3 separate regions of the Homo sapiens genome follow, and all the other regions are linked to region 1. The links are contacts of gene promoters, found by promoter capture Hi-C in blood cells and fetal thymus (Javierre and others, 2016). All regions are on one chromosome and are shown on one strand. Each heading gives the region's core, a stretch centred on a gene start or on the middle of the fragment in contact. The rest is flanking DNA. Distances are from core to core; before and after follow the strand shown. Region 1 holds the start of SCAT8 (S-phase cancer associated transcript 8). Region 2 overlaps LGSN (lengsin, lens protein with glutamine synthetase domain). Region 3 has its middle 150 kb from the start of FKBP1C.

Region 1 (4,360 bases), core at 1,650-4,149:
CTTACTTTGGTGAAGGTGGCTACAGAAGGCCCTTTTGAGAAAAGATACACTACCGTGTTTATTGAGTACAATGATTTTTTTTCTTTTTCTTTTTCTTGAGACAGAGTTTTGCTCTTGTTGCCCAGGCTGGAGTGCAACACTGCAATCTCGGCTCACTGCAACCTCCGCCTCCTGGGTTCAAGCGATTCTCATGCCTCAGCCTCCCAAGTAGCTAGGATTACAGGTGTGCACCACCATGCCTGGCTAATTTTGTATTTTTAGTAGAGACGGGGTTTCTCCATGTTGGTCAGGCTGCTCTCAAACTCCTGACCTCAGGTGATCCACCCACCTTGGCCTCCCAAAGTGCTGGGATTACAGGCGTGAGTCACCGCGCCTGGCCGAGTCCAACAATATTTTAAGAGCTTCCCATGTATTAAGTTCGTTATTCCTCACAACGCTGTAAGGAAATACACTGTTACTATACTCATTTGATAGGTTAGAAAATAGAGGCACAAAGACATTAAGTAACTTGACACATAATTTGCACATGGTGGAGACTGATTCATGTCTACATCACCAGTCTCTAGAGCCTGCTCCCTTGACCACTATGATAGCTATTTCCTGTCAAGGCTGAGGAAAAAGCATGCACCAAACCTCTGAGACAGGAAAGCACTTGGTGGTTAAGGCACTGGAAGAAGAGCTGTAGGAGAAAAGCACAGAGATAGTGAGAGTGGCCTGGTTGTGTTCAGAGATGCAGACTGGGATCTGATCCTGAAGGCCCTTTGAGAACATGATAAGGAGGTTTGGATTGCATTCTAAGTGCAGTAAAAAGCCACAGATGGGTTTTAAACAAGGTTCAGACATGATCTAATAAACCTTTTAAGAGGCTAACTCTTATTACAATGTGGATAATTAATTGCAGGCAGGAAATCAGTAGGGAGACCAGTCAGGAAGAGGTCATGAGGTTTCAGCATAGGGATGGGGAAGAGATTCAAACAAATTTTGGAGGTAGAATGAATAGTACTTTACATGATAGAGTACCCCATCCTAGCAGACATGGTGGGAGTCTGAAATACCACATTTCATTTGGGGTGTAGGCTCCTTTCAGACATATGCTGATACAGAAAAGAGTGTTTGGTATTAAGAGACAGTCACTGATTGAGTTGAAAAAAACAGAATATGTTATTTACCCTAGCACCGTAGAACCACTGACAGCTGAGAGAAAGGTCTTTTTCTGTTACAATATGTTGATCTCACAGATGAAAACACTGAACTCAGAGAAGTTAGGTGATTAATTGCTTAACTGTTGATTGCAGACTTAAAAGTAAAACATAGGTAATTTTCCTTGACTTAGCACATGCATAACTAGTTTCTACTTAAGAGAGACAAATGTAAGTTATAAGTTGATTTCCCACCAATTCCAGGGCACTAGAGTACTTTGTTACAGGCTGAGTACTTTCTTAATTTCTTGCTCCTTTAATTTAGAATGGTTTTCTTTGAGGGCAACAACCATTTCCATTTTATAACACATGGAAAAATGAGAATTTCCCTTCTCTCTTCAGACATGGAAACAGAAAGAAACAGAGGAAAGGACAAATCAATAAACTTACTTCCCATGTGACTTGGTCACCTTCCCTGTCCTCATGTTTGCCTGTAGGAATTTTTTCTTTTGATTATGAAAGGTAGCTGATATGGTTAGGTTTTGTGTTCCCACGCAAACCTCATCTTGAATTGTAATCCCCATAATCCCCAGGTGTCAAGGGAGAGACCAGGTGGAGGTAATTAAATCATGGGGGTGGTTTTCCTCATGCGTTCTCGTGATAGTGAGTGAGTTCTCAGGAGATCTGATGGTTTTATAAGGAGAAATTCTCCCCTTTACTAGGCACGTCTTCCTGCTGCCTTGTGAAGAAAGTACTCTGCTTCCTCTTCCCCTTCCACCATGCTTGTAAATTTCCGGAGGCCTCCCCAGCCATGCTGAACAGTGAGTCAATTAAACTTCTTTCCTTTGTAAATTACCCAGTCTCTGGCAGTTCTTTACAGCAGCATGAAAACTGACTAATACAGTAGCCCTGATGCAAAGTAGAGCTTCAGAAAGGATCAGGGAACTGCTAAGTACTTTGGACTACAGCGAACATGCTCAAGGCAGAAAACAGGAGGAGGCTGCATCTAGGCAAAGGTCTTTTTTTTACCACAGCCAATTAGAGTGTCCCTGAGGAATCTCTAAAGTATTCTTAAAGGAGCGAGGCAAGTCCTAGAGGGTTCAGTTAATCTTACCATGGCCTTTCTGTCCAGTAAAAAATATCAAGTTATTTTGCAGTGCTGAGTGGTTGTTTGCCAGCTGAAACTTCAGGTGGAATTCATAATGGAAGCTGATGTCTGAGATCCGTGAATAAGCCAGGAATGAGGTGTATCCAAAGGCATCTGTGCCACTGAACCTTGGCTGAGTAATATTAATAGCTGTGAAAAAACCCAAACCAAACAGTTAAAATAAACCTGTACATGTATTTGTAAAGTGAGGGTTACGTTTTGCTGATGCATCTGGCCAGATAGTCTGTTTACTATTACATTAATTATACTTTAGTGCCCTTCAGCATTGAGCAACTAAGTGACTCAACAGGAAATTTCAAAACCAGAACAAAGGAAATGCAGTGTTTTGAGATCTTCTATATAATCCTTTCACTAGCATACTCTTTCTACATAATGGATAATTTACTTAAAAAGCAAACCCCTATATTTTGAAACTTAATTTTAGAAATAGAAAAGATTACTGGCAGCCAAACAAAGTATTTACTCAGGTGCCTCGTAAACATGATTTGGCATCCAAAACCTGGATATGACTTAGAGAGGAGCTCACACCTTTGAACAAACTGTGCTTTTCTAATCCTGCACCTTTATCTGAGCCAAAGCCCCAGGTCAGGGCTAGGAAAGTCAAGAAATAGGAAGGAAATCGGTCAGTTTTCTATCATCATTGGTGAGTGACCAGAGCTTTTCTTTAAGTAAAAATAATTGTCTAAAAGAAATGTTCATTATTTCTTTGCTGAGATGCTTCTTAAGTAATAAAAACATGGAATTCAATTGGTGTGAAAGTGTAGGGAGATTTATTAAAAACAGGAAATGGTAAAATTAGATGAAGTTCAAGGGCCAGTGTGAACAAAATAGAATTTAACTGAGGGTTGCTTCTTGTATCGAACTCTTCTCTTTCATTGTACTGTTTCCTTCATAAGTCTCCACTGGTTTTTTAAATCTCCTTACCCAAAGAGGACAACAGAAAATAGAAAGGGGATTTTGACACCCCATTCCTGTCTTTTATGGATGATGTCACCAGATTAAGGGATGTTCCTAGGATCTATTTTTATTGGTTGGGGACAGCTCGGTTGAGGAAATAAGAGCTTATGTTGTTTCCTTCTCAAGAGATGTTGGAACTCCAGGGAAGCTGTAAAATTAGAATTTTTACAAGCCTTAAGAAATATACTCACTCTGGTATGTAACACTTAAAAGAGCTTCTTATGTCTGTTTATAATTGTGTATACAGCAAATAATTTAGGAAAAATGATGCTTATTATCAAAGGCTTGTATATCTTTGTTTTATATGACTATTAAACTAAGATATTTGTGTGAATAAACTGAATACTTTGTTTTGATATTTTATTAAAATCTTATCAGTTTATTATGACTATTAAACTAAGATATTTGTGTGAAGCTGAATACTTTGTTTTGATATTTTATTAAAATCTTATCAGTTTATTCCCTGGGATGTGTGGCATAGGTTAAATGTAATTTTCTCAAAACTCACCAGAATGTGAAGTAGGGACTTTTGAGACATATTGCTTCTTATACTTATTTTTTAATCTAATGAAAACTTTATAATTTGTGTCCCTGAGATAATAACACTCTCAGGTATATCACTTTCAGTAGTACTATGGGGAGGGTGATTGAGGGAAATGAAATGTACTGGAGTTGAAACAGAATAAAAATACTGACCATCATTCAATGTTGGCATTAAAAACTATGAAAATAGAATTCAGTTAAATTTAATACTAAAATAGAAAAGGAATGACTATCTTTTGCTTTTAATATTTCTTCCTGTTAATAATTTACAACTGAGTCTACCTAAAGGTTACATTTAGGCTAGATTGACAAATACGTATCTCATATATATGGTATTTTACTGTCAGAACCTGTGCTAGATGCTGGTGACACAAAGATAAAAAAGCACTAGTCACTCAAGGGATTAGTGTGAAGTCAATACATTTATTCAGCTGAACTGGACTGAAAGTTGAGGCCTGGTATAAGAACTTTCAGGCAGAAGAAACAGCATGTTCTAGGGTGTGAAGACCAAAACAGCATGTCATACTCAGGGAACTTATGAAGTCTGCAAATT
Region 2 (4,145 bases), core at 113-2,612, 530 kb before region 1:
TATGTTCTGCTTAAGATACACAGATCCAAAACTCTTTCATTGTCTGCTCATCTTTGTTTTGGTCTCCCCTAGTATGATGGCTCCCAGCTGAAGGCTTAGCACACAAATGGTGCTCAATAAGTGCTGCTGAATGAATGTCTGACCCTCTTAACCCAGACCAAGAAGGTAGAAGCATCAGCAGAAAGTCCTTTCAACAATAGAAAGCCTATGAACAGATGAAAGAAATAGAAAAATAGATAACTGATTTTTACATGTACCTACCCCAATTTGTCTTTGGCCCTGAACTCTGCTGGCCAATGCCTCTTTTTGGGTTGCCTTAAAGAACAAGAATATACATCAGCACACACCTAACTGAAATCTTGGTGGAAACTGCCACACCAACTTACGTTATCAACTGATTTGTAATCTATGGCTGAATATTTTCTTTGACTCACGACTGTACACTTAATACTGAAGATAATATTCCTAGTTATATAATTCCTTCACATGGCATCCTGAGTACTGTGTTTTTAAGTTATGCTAATAATGCGAAAGGGGAAAAAACGGCTTCAAACACTGTGATTATCAGACTTTTTACAGCATCTTTACTCATTATGGTAAAATGAAGTCAATGCATTAGACATGTTTCATTAAGGCCCGTGGACTATAAAGGGATATGCCACTTTATAGGGATGGGTTAGAGCCAATCCCATTTTTTGGATGTGTGGATCCCTTTGATTAACTCAGATTATCCTCTCTAGAAGTGGGAATATTGAGGAAGTCGTCTTTCACTGGTTCTTATACCTTTGTTCTTTCATCCCCAAATCCCTCAAATTCCCCACTCATATGCACACACTCACACACAAACACACATACAACACACACATGGAAAAGAGAAAATAAATTTCATTGCAACTAACAAAGAATCAAAATCATTGTGGCTTAAAGAAGATAGAAGTTTGGTTCTCTCTCAGGTAAACATCTGGATGTAGGCAAGTCAAACTGCTCTACAAAGCAGAGATTCCACCTTATTACTGTACCCTGTGGAGCAAACCTCCCTTCCCAAGGACATAATCCTAGCCACATTATCTGTAGGCCACTCAGCAGGAAGGGTGAAGGCAGCAAGAGAAAGAAAGGGCAGAGCACACAGCATCCGTCATTTAAAAAAATGTTCTAAAGTGTGGTAGGGCATGGTGGCTCATGCCTGTAATCCTAGCACTTTGGGAGGCCAAGGCAGGCTGATCACCTGAGTTCAGGAGTTCAAGACCAGACTGGCCAATATGGTGAAACCCCATCTCTACTAAAAGGCCAGGCATGGTAGCAGGCACCTGGGATCCCAGCTACTTGGGAGGCTGAGGCAGGAGAATTACTTGAACCCAGGGGGCAGAGGTTGCAGTGAGCCAAGACCCCCCCACATTGCACTTCAGCCTGGGTGACAAAGCGAGACTCCATCTCGGAAAAAAAAAAAAAATACAAGAAAAGAAAAGAAAATGTCCTAAAGAACTTATATGCAACACTTCTACTTTCACCTCTTTGCACTGAACCTAATAACATGACCACATCCAACCTTAATGAAGGCTCAGAAATATCATTTCATTTTTCATTGCTTTCAAAGAACATATTGAGGTTTTATTACTGAGAACAGAGGGGAAAATGAACAGAGGGGAATTTTCTAGCAGACAGCTAGAAAATTGGCATGAGAGTCTTCCTTATCCCTCCCATGATGTAATGTGTGGGATTTCATTCTGGAGGTTTCAGGACAGGTTCCCTTCCTTCCCCCAGCTACCCTACACTATCTTTCTCTCTACCCCATATGCATCCATGAATTTTATTCTTCTCTTTTTTTTAAGACAGTGTCTCACTCTGTCACCCAAGCTGGAGTGCAGTGGTGTGATTATGGCTCACTGCAGCCTGAAACTCCCAGGCTCAAGCGATCCTCCCTTCTCAGCCTCCCACGTAGCTGGGACTACAGGCATGTGCCACCATGCGAGGCATTTTTTTTTTTTTTTTTGTAGAAACAGGGGTCTCACTATGTGGTCCAGGCTGGACTCAAACTCCTGGCCTCAAGCAATCCTCCTGCCTTGGCCTCCCAAAGTGCTGGGAACTTTCTTCTTATGTATCCAAACACACTTCTCCTGCTCAAAGGAAAAAAGAAGGGAGTAATTAGTGAAGGATAGACTGACTTTCACTATTTAAGCTACTGAGTAATATGAATTTTAATAAGAGGATCTGAGCCAAATTCTAATCCTCTGCTTGTGCAATTGCTATCTAAATTGAGACTACAGTCAGTTTTAATTGAACATAAAATCTGCTGTTTGATCCTAAGCAGTAGAATAATGTTTCATTTGCTAGTAAGTGGATTTTGGACTTCTTCCCAAAAGCAGCTAAACTTTTGTGATAGTTACAATATTATCTCATTCAAACAAAGGCCTGGAACAGGTAATATTCTCTGGGGAGGTACCAACCTCTGTGAGCAGCAGATTCAGTAATTTGAATAACAAACTTAAACTCCAAACATAGCCCTGGCTAGCCAGGCAGTTGTTCTCACACTCCACAGAGCACTAGAGGTTTCAGAGGAACATCTAGTTTCAAAGAATGAAGCAGAGTAGACAGAGCCCACCTACCCTCACACACAAACATCTTTCTATCTATACTTTGTGTATTGAACTTCTATATGAGGCATTGTTAAAAGAAAGGCTTTAACTACTTTTAAAATCTGACCTCGTTGTTCTCAGCTCCAATTCTATTCCTTAGGGATTTGTTTCTTGAGGACATTATAACCTTGAAGTTCATAAGCTTTTCAGGAGCTAGTGGAGAAGGGTGAAAAGAGAAGAGACTTAGGGGAAAACTGCCTACCTGTCATTATATTTTGGCAAAAGTTTATTTAACTTGTTTAGAAAGACCATAATGGTGCATACAACCTGGATTCACAATATTATTTGATTAGCGAGACTATATTAGTATATTTGTCTCCCTGGAAATCATAACCTATGTGTACCATTAAAATTTTTTCTCCTTTTCTTTTTTTTCTTTTTTAGTCATTTAAATTTTGCTTTCTAATGCTTAAGTCTTTTTTTTCTTAATGTGCGAATATATTTATTGCCACCCAAAATTGGATATTCTTATCCAGGTCAACATACACATAGGAAATGACTGACAAGATCTGGTAAGTTTGCATATTATAGCTTCACCACAACTTTGTTGTTTGTTTCTGTTATCAGAATCTTCTCAGCAGTCCTACTTCATCTGTCAAATATTCCATGGACAAAAAAAAAAGTCAAAAGCATTCGTAATCTTGTTATTGTTGCTGTTGTTAATTACAAAAGTTCAGTCTTTTTGTTTTGGTAGATTAGCTTTAAGTAACAATTACATGTCTAAAGGAGTAGTTGTGAGCTCTATTCTAAATAAAATACTCTAAGAATTTATTTCTCTCTGCAGCTATTTCTTCATTCTCCAACTCATATTTCTTCATGGCAACAAAATATCGAATAAAGGTTTCTCCTAGAGCCTGTCTCAGGCATTGATCTTCTTCCAGTGCCACAAGGGCATCTTCTAGTTTTAAAGGGATCTCAGAAGGTTCCACTTGGTAAAAGTCTGTGCTCTCATCTGGACCAGCCAAGACCTCATTACTGCTATGAAGTCCATCTAAGCCGGCAGCAACAGTTGCAGCCAGCACCAAGTAAGGGTTTGCTGTTGCTGAGCCTAGTTTATTTTCTATCCGGGTGCCTTTCTCTCCATGACATTTGATATTAAATATACAGCTGTTGTCATTGTATCCCCATGTTGTAGGCACACTCTTCTTCAGGTCTTTCCTGTCCTTGGAATAACGCTTTCGGCAGCTAACAGAAGGCGCCATCAGGCAGCTGAGCGCAGCAGAGTGCTTCAAGAGTCCTGCCAACCATTTTTTCCCAGTGATCGTGAGCTGCTCAGTTCCAGAAGTGCTGCAGAACATGTTTTTCTTCCTATCGACATCCCAGAGACTATGAGACAAAATCCCTGAATCACAAAATCCAGTCTCAATGAAGAAGCTGGCAATGTAATTATATTTCCTTGCCACTTCTTTGACACCTGTTCTGAGGGTAAATGCATTATCAGCTGAGCTAATGCCAAATTCAGGCAGGAAAGAGATTTCCATCTGACCAGGCCTGGTAGAGGAGGAAAAACTC
Region 3 (4,483 bases), core at 1,880-4,379, 740 kb before region 1:
ACCTTGTCCTTTGTTGGGGCATCCTCAAAATAGTCATATCCGTAGATCTCATCAGTTTCATTAAGAAAGACTCATAGGCCAGGTGTGATGGCTCACATCTGTAATCCCACACTTTAGAAGGCTGAGGTAATATCACTTGAGGTCAGGAGTTTGAGATCAGCCTGGGCAACACAGTGAAACTCTGTCTCTACAAAAAATAAAACACAGCCAGTTGTGATGGTACATTCCTGTACTCCCAGCTACTTGAGGGACTGAGGCAGGAGTAACACACGAGCCCAGGAGTTTAAGGTTACAGTGAGCCGTGATGTGCCACTGTGTTCCAGTCTGGCAATAGAGTGAGACTTTGTCTCAATAATAATAAAAAAAAATTAATTCTCAATTGTTCCCTGGATTGAAAGTTGTGGTGCTGGGTTCATCATACTTAGAGCAAAGTAGGAGAAAATAACAAAGTGTCAATGTTTAATATATACATCTTTATTTAAATCATCTATTTTCAGTATAATACCCGAGGTCTCTGAAACACTCATTATTTTCAACCTCTGTCTTCTAGGCTTCACCTAGGAGAAATGCCATTCTGCAAACGCCTTCACCATTCATTCTCTCAGTTATCCAAGCTTCAGCAAAATATATCAGCATCATCAACTGCCTGTCTCCTTTGAATGCAAATAATTGCTTGTCAAATAATTCCTCAGAAATAATATGTCTGGTGATATGGTTTTGCTGAGTCCCCACCCAAATCTTGTCTTGAATTGTAGTACACATAATGCCAACATGTCACAGGAGGAACCAAGTGGGAGGTAACTGAGTCATAGGAGCAGTTACCCTCATCCTGGTGCTCTCATGATACTGAGTGAGTTCCCACGAGATCTGATGGTTTTATAAGGAGCTTTTACCCCTTTTGCTCAGCACTTCTCCTTCTTGCATCATATGAAGAAGGATGTGTTTGCTACCCCTTCCACCATGATTGAAAGTTTCCTGAGGACTCCCCAGCCATGCTGAGCTATGAGTCAATTAAACTTATTTATTTTATAAATTACCCAGTCTCAGATGTGTTTTTATTAGCAGCATGTGAGTGGACTTATACATAAATTGGTAGCAAGTAGTGGGGAGCTGCTGTAAAGATACCTGAAAATGTGAAAGTGATTTTGGAACTGGGTAACAAGCAGAGATTGAAACAGTTTGGAAGGCTCAGAAGAAGACAGGAAAATGTGAAAGTTTGGAACTTCCCAGAGATTTGCTTAATGGCTTTGACCAAAATGCTGATAGTGATATGAACAATAAAGTCCAGGCTGAGGTGGTCTCAGTTGGAACTTGTTGGGAACTGGACTAAATGTCACTCTTGTTATGCAGAGACTGGCAGCATTCTGCCCCTGCCCTAGAGATCTTTGGAACTTTGAACTTGAGAGAGATGATTTAGGGTATCTGGTGGAAGAAATTTCTAAATGACAAAGCATTCAAGAGGAAGCAGAGGACAAAAGTTTGGAAAATTTGCAGCCTGATGATGTGATAGAAAAGAAAAACCATTTTTCTGGAGAGAAATTCAAGCTGGCTGCAGAAATTTGCATAAATAAGGAGTCAAATGTTAATCACCAAGACAATGGGAAAAATGTCCCCAAGGCATGTCACAGACTTTCATGGCAGCCCCTCCCATTACAGGTCTGGAGGTCTAGGAGGAAAAAATGATTTTCTGGCGGGGTCAAGGACTCCCTGCTCTGTGCACCCTCAAGACTGCATCCCAGCTGCTCTAGCCATGGCTAAAAGGAGCCAACATATAGCTCAGACTATTGCTTCAGAAGTTAAAAGCCCCAAGCCTTGGTAGCTTCCATGTGGTGTTGGGCCTTTTGGTGCACAGAAGTCAAGAACTGAGGTGTGGGAACCTCCACCTAGATTTCAGAGGATGTATGGAAAGGCCTGAATGTCCAGGCAAAAGCTTACTGCAGGGGCAGAGCCCTCAAGGAGAATCTCCGCTATGCCCATGAAGAAGGGAAATGTGGGGCTGGAGCCCCCACAGAGTCCCCACTGCCTAATGGAGCTGTGAGAAGTGCCCTAATGGGGACTGCCTAATGGAGCTGTGAGAAGAGGGCCACCATCCTCTAGACCCTAGAATGGCAGATCCACCAACAGCTTGCAGTGTGCATCTGGAAAAGCCACAAGCACCCAATACCAACCAGCCCATTAAAGCAGCCATGAGGCGGGCTGTACCCCGCAAAGCCACAGTGGTGGAGCTGCTCAAGACCATGGGAGCCCACTTTTTGTATCAGTATGACCTGGATGTGAGACCTGGGGTCAAAGGAGATCATTTTGGAGCTTTAAGATTTGACTGCCCTGCTGGATTTCTAACTCACATGGGGCCTGTAGTCCCTTTGTTTTGGCCAATTTCTCCCACAAGGAATGGGGTGTATTTACCCAATGCCTGGACCCACACGTTTACCTATGTAACAAACCTGTATATTCTGCACATGTACCCCAGAACTTAAAATAAAAGTTGAAAAACAAAACAAAACAAAAAAACTTTGGAACCAGTCATACAGCCTCTCTGATAGCATCTCCATTAGCAATTCATGAAAAAGATTTCTAGGATCAGAAAGGAAACTCTCTTCTGCCTCTACCTTGGAAATGGTATTCTCAACACTATGTTAGAAGAAAATTAAACATGTAAATATCTTTGACATTTAAAAGTTTCTAAAAATGAATTAAATTATAAATGGCAATAACTTAGGTTTATGTGGCACTTTATGTTTTTCAACGTCCTTCTAACTATATTATGCCCCCGCCCTTGGTAGAGCAGTCATGAATACTTAAAGTGACTTGCCTAAAGGAGCACAGCTAACTAGCTATAACACTTATAACAAAGATGCAAGATTCACATTTGCTTTTCTTTTCTGTGAATTTGACCTTACTAAAGGAAGCCATTGCCACAAGTAGACAAATTCTATATTAGCTGTACTCACATGGGATTCCTGTTGTGGCTCTCACTGTCATTTTATGACACAGGCTCCCCCATAACAAGAACCATGGCATTTTCCAGGTCCCTCACCTGCCTTATGACACCCCCCAAAGTGTAGAGTGGGATATCCTCTCCATGATGATTCTGCTACTTTGCTGTAGCCTAACCAGAATTGTAATAGTCATCCAAAGGTTGGAAATTAAAGCCATAACCGCATGTACACACATATTATAAAGACTTTTTTTCTTCTTTGGCAACTATTACAAATGTGACCCAGGTAAAATGAAAAATTCTCAGGATTGCTATGAAATCATTTATTTTCCATGCCACACCAGAGTTTTAAAATATTAGAAAATTAAGATATATGAATCTCTCTTGCTCCAAGCTAATGCATTTGTCATATATTTCAAGGTGGTCCTGGCATGATGCCATATCTAAGTTTTTAGTTCAGAACTGTGACTAGCATGGCACTATCAAAGTGCACCAAGGTCTTTCCCTTGTATTTACTAGAAATAGCATTCTAGAAAATATCTCAAAACTCCCAAGGTAGGAAGAACACTAAAAAGAAATCTATTTTTTTTCATCTGGCACCTTCAAAATGAACTGAGCCTCACTTTTGGTCTACATTGAAGCATTTGGTCTAGATCCATCTTAGGTATATTCAAGATAGCTTTTCCGTATTAGAAAACTCAAATACAGTATTAGTTGATGTAGAAGTCAGAAAAATGTACGAACTACAATTCTTTTAAAGTTCTATTTTCGTCAAAGTTATGTTCAATAATTTTTCTATTTTATTTTTATTGTTTTGTTTTCAATACATAGACATAAACATAGTTCACTTATCTGGCACCAAGTTAGAACAATTTTTTAGAAAATTTGCCTTCCTTGTAAACAGATAAGAGTTGTAAGACCCACGCTATTGTAACTGAAAGCAGACCAATAATTTTAACAATAGAACAAAATGTTTATTTAGAACAAGAAATATTTAAGCAACTATGTGTTTAACAAAGTACTATTTAAAGGACATACTCATTAAGCACCATAAAAAGCTGATTTTGGGCATGTGCTTATATCAACTCATTTAATTCTCACAGTATTGAATTAGTTGGTCTACATGAGAATTTTCTGTTATGTGACCTCTCAGATGATCATTTGGGAATCCTGAATTCCCAGGTATTGGTAATGCATTTAATTGTGTAATGAAGTTTATCAAATGATGAGCATCGTATATGAACAAGATACTATGATAATAACAATAATTATCTTTATTCATTGAATTCTTTTAAAGTGACATTGTTCTTTCTACACATATACTTTTGTTTAATTATCTTAAAATCCTACTGAGTAGGTATTAGTATCCTCATTGAACTTACAAGAAAGCCAAGCTTCAAAAACAAGGTAATTTCCCCAAGTTCACAATTATAAAATGGTAAATGAATTCAGCCCCAAATCTTTTTTACACTAAAACTCATGTTCTCATTTCACCCTGCTGCCTCTAATTTTAGAGCATAAACCAGTTCCCACTTAGAAAAACAT

The links. Contacts are between HindIII fragments. The CHiCAGO score rates a contact against its expected background, and 5 or more counts as called.
Region 2: a fragment that was not itself captured here is called in contact with the fragment with the promoter of SCAT8 in region 1 in 1 of 17 cell types (M1 macrophages); the score reaches 5.0 in M1 macrophages.
Region 3: a fragment that was not itself captured here is called in contact with the fragment with the promoter of SCAT8 in region 1 in 1 of 17 cell types (M2 macrophages); the score reaches 5.7 in M2 macrophages.

The regions. Positions count from the first base shown.
Region 1 is chr6:63,803,937-63,808,296 of GRCh38, forward strand. It overlaps SCAT8 (S-phase cancer associated transcript 8), which reads left to right and starts at 2,900. Exons shown (of 2, transcript NR_157848.1): 1 at 2,900-2,950. It overlaps EYS (eyes shut homolog), which reads right to left. Exons shown (of 43, transcript NM_001142800.2): 37 at 2,254-2,436. The HindIII fragment of the contact is 5,141 bases long and covers 1-4,360 here.
Region 2 is chr6:63,276,642-63,280,786 of GRCh38, forward strand. It overlaps LGSN (lengsin, lens protein with glutamine synthetase domain), which reads right to left. Exons shown (of 4, transcript NM_016571.3): 4 at 1-4,145. The coding sequence ends at 3,380. Among named protein-coding and RNA genes, the nearest start is that of LGSN, 41 kb to the right of the region's middle. The HindIII fragment of the contact is 2,822 bases long and covers 1-2,773 here.
Region 3 is chr6:63,061,279-63,065,761 of GRCh38, forward strand. No RefSeq gene overlaps it. Among named protein-coding and RNA genes, the nearest start is that of FKBP1C, 150 kb to the right of the region's middle. The HindIII fragment of the contact is 2,402 bases long and covers 1,929-4,330 here.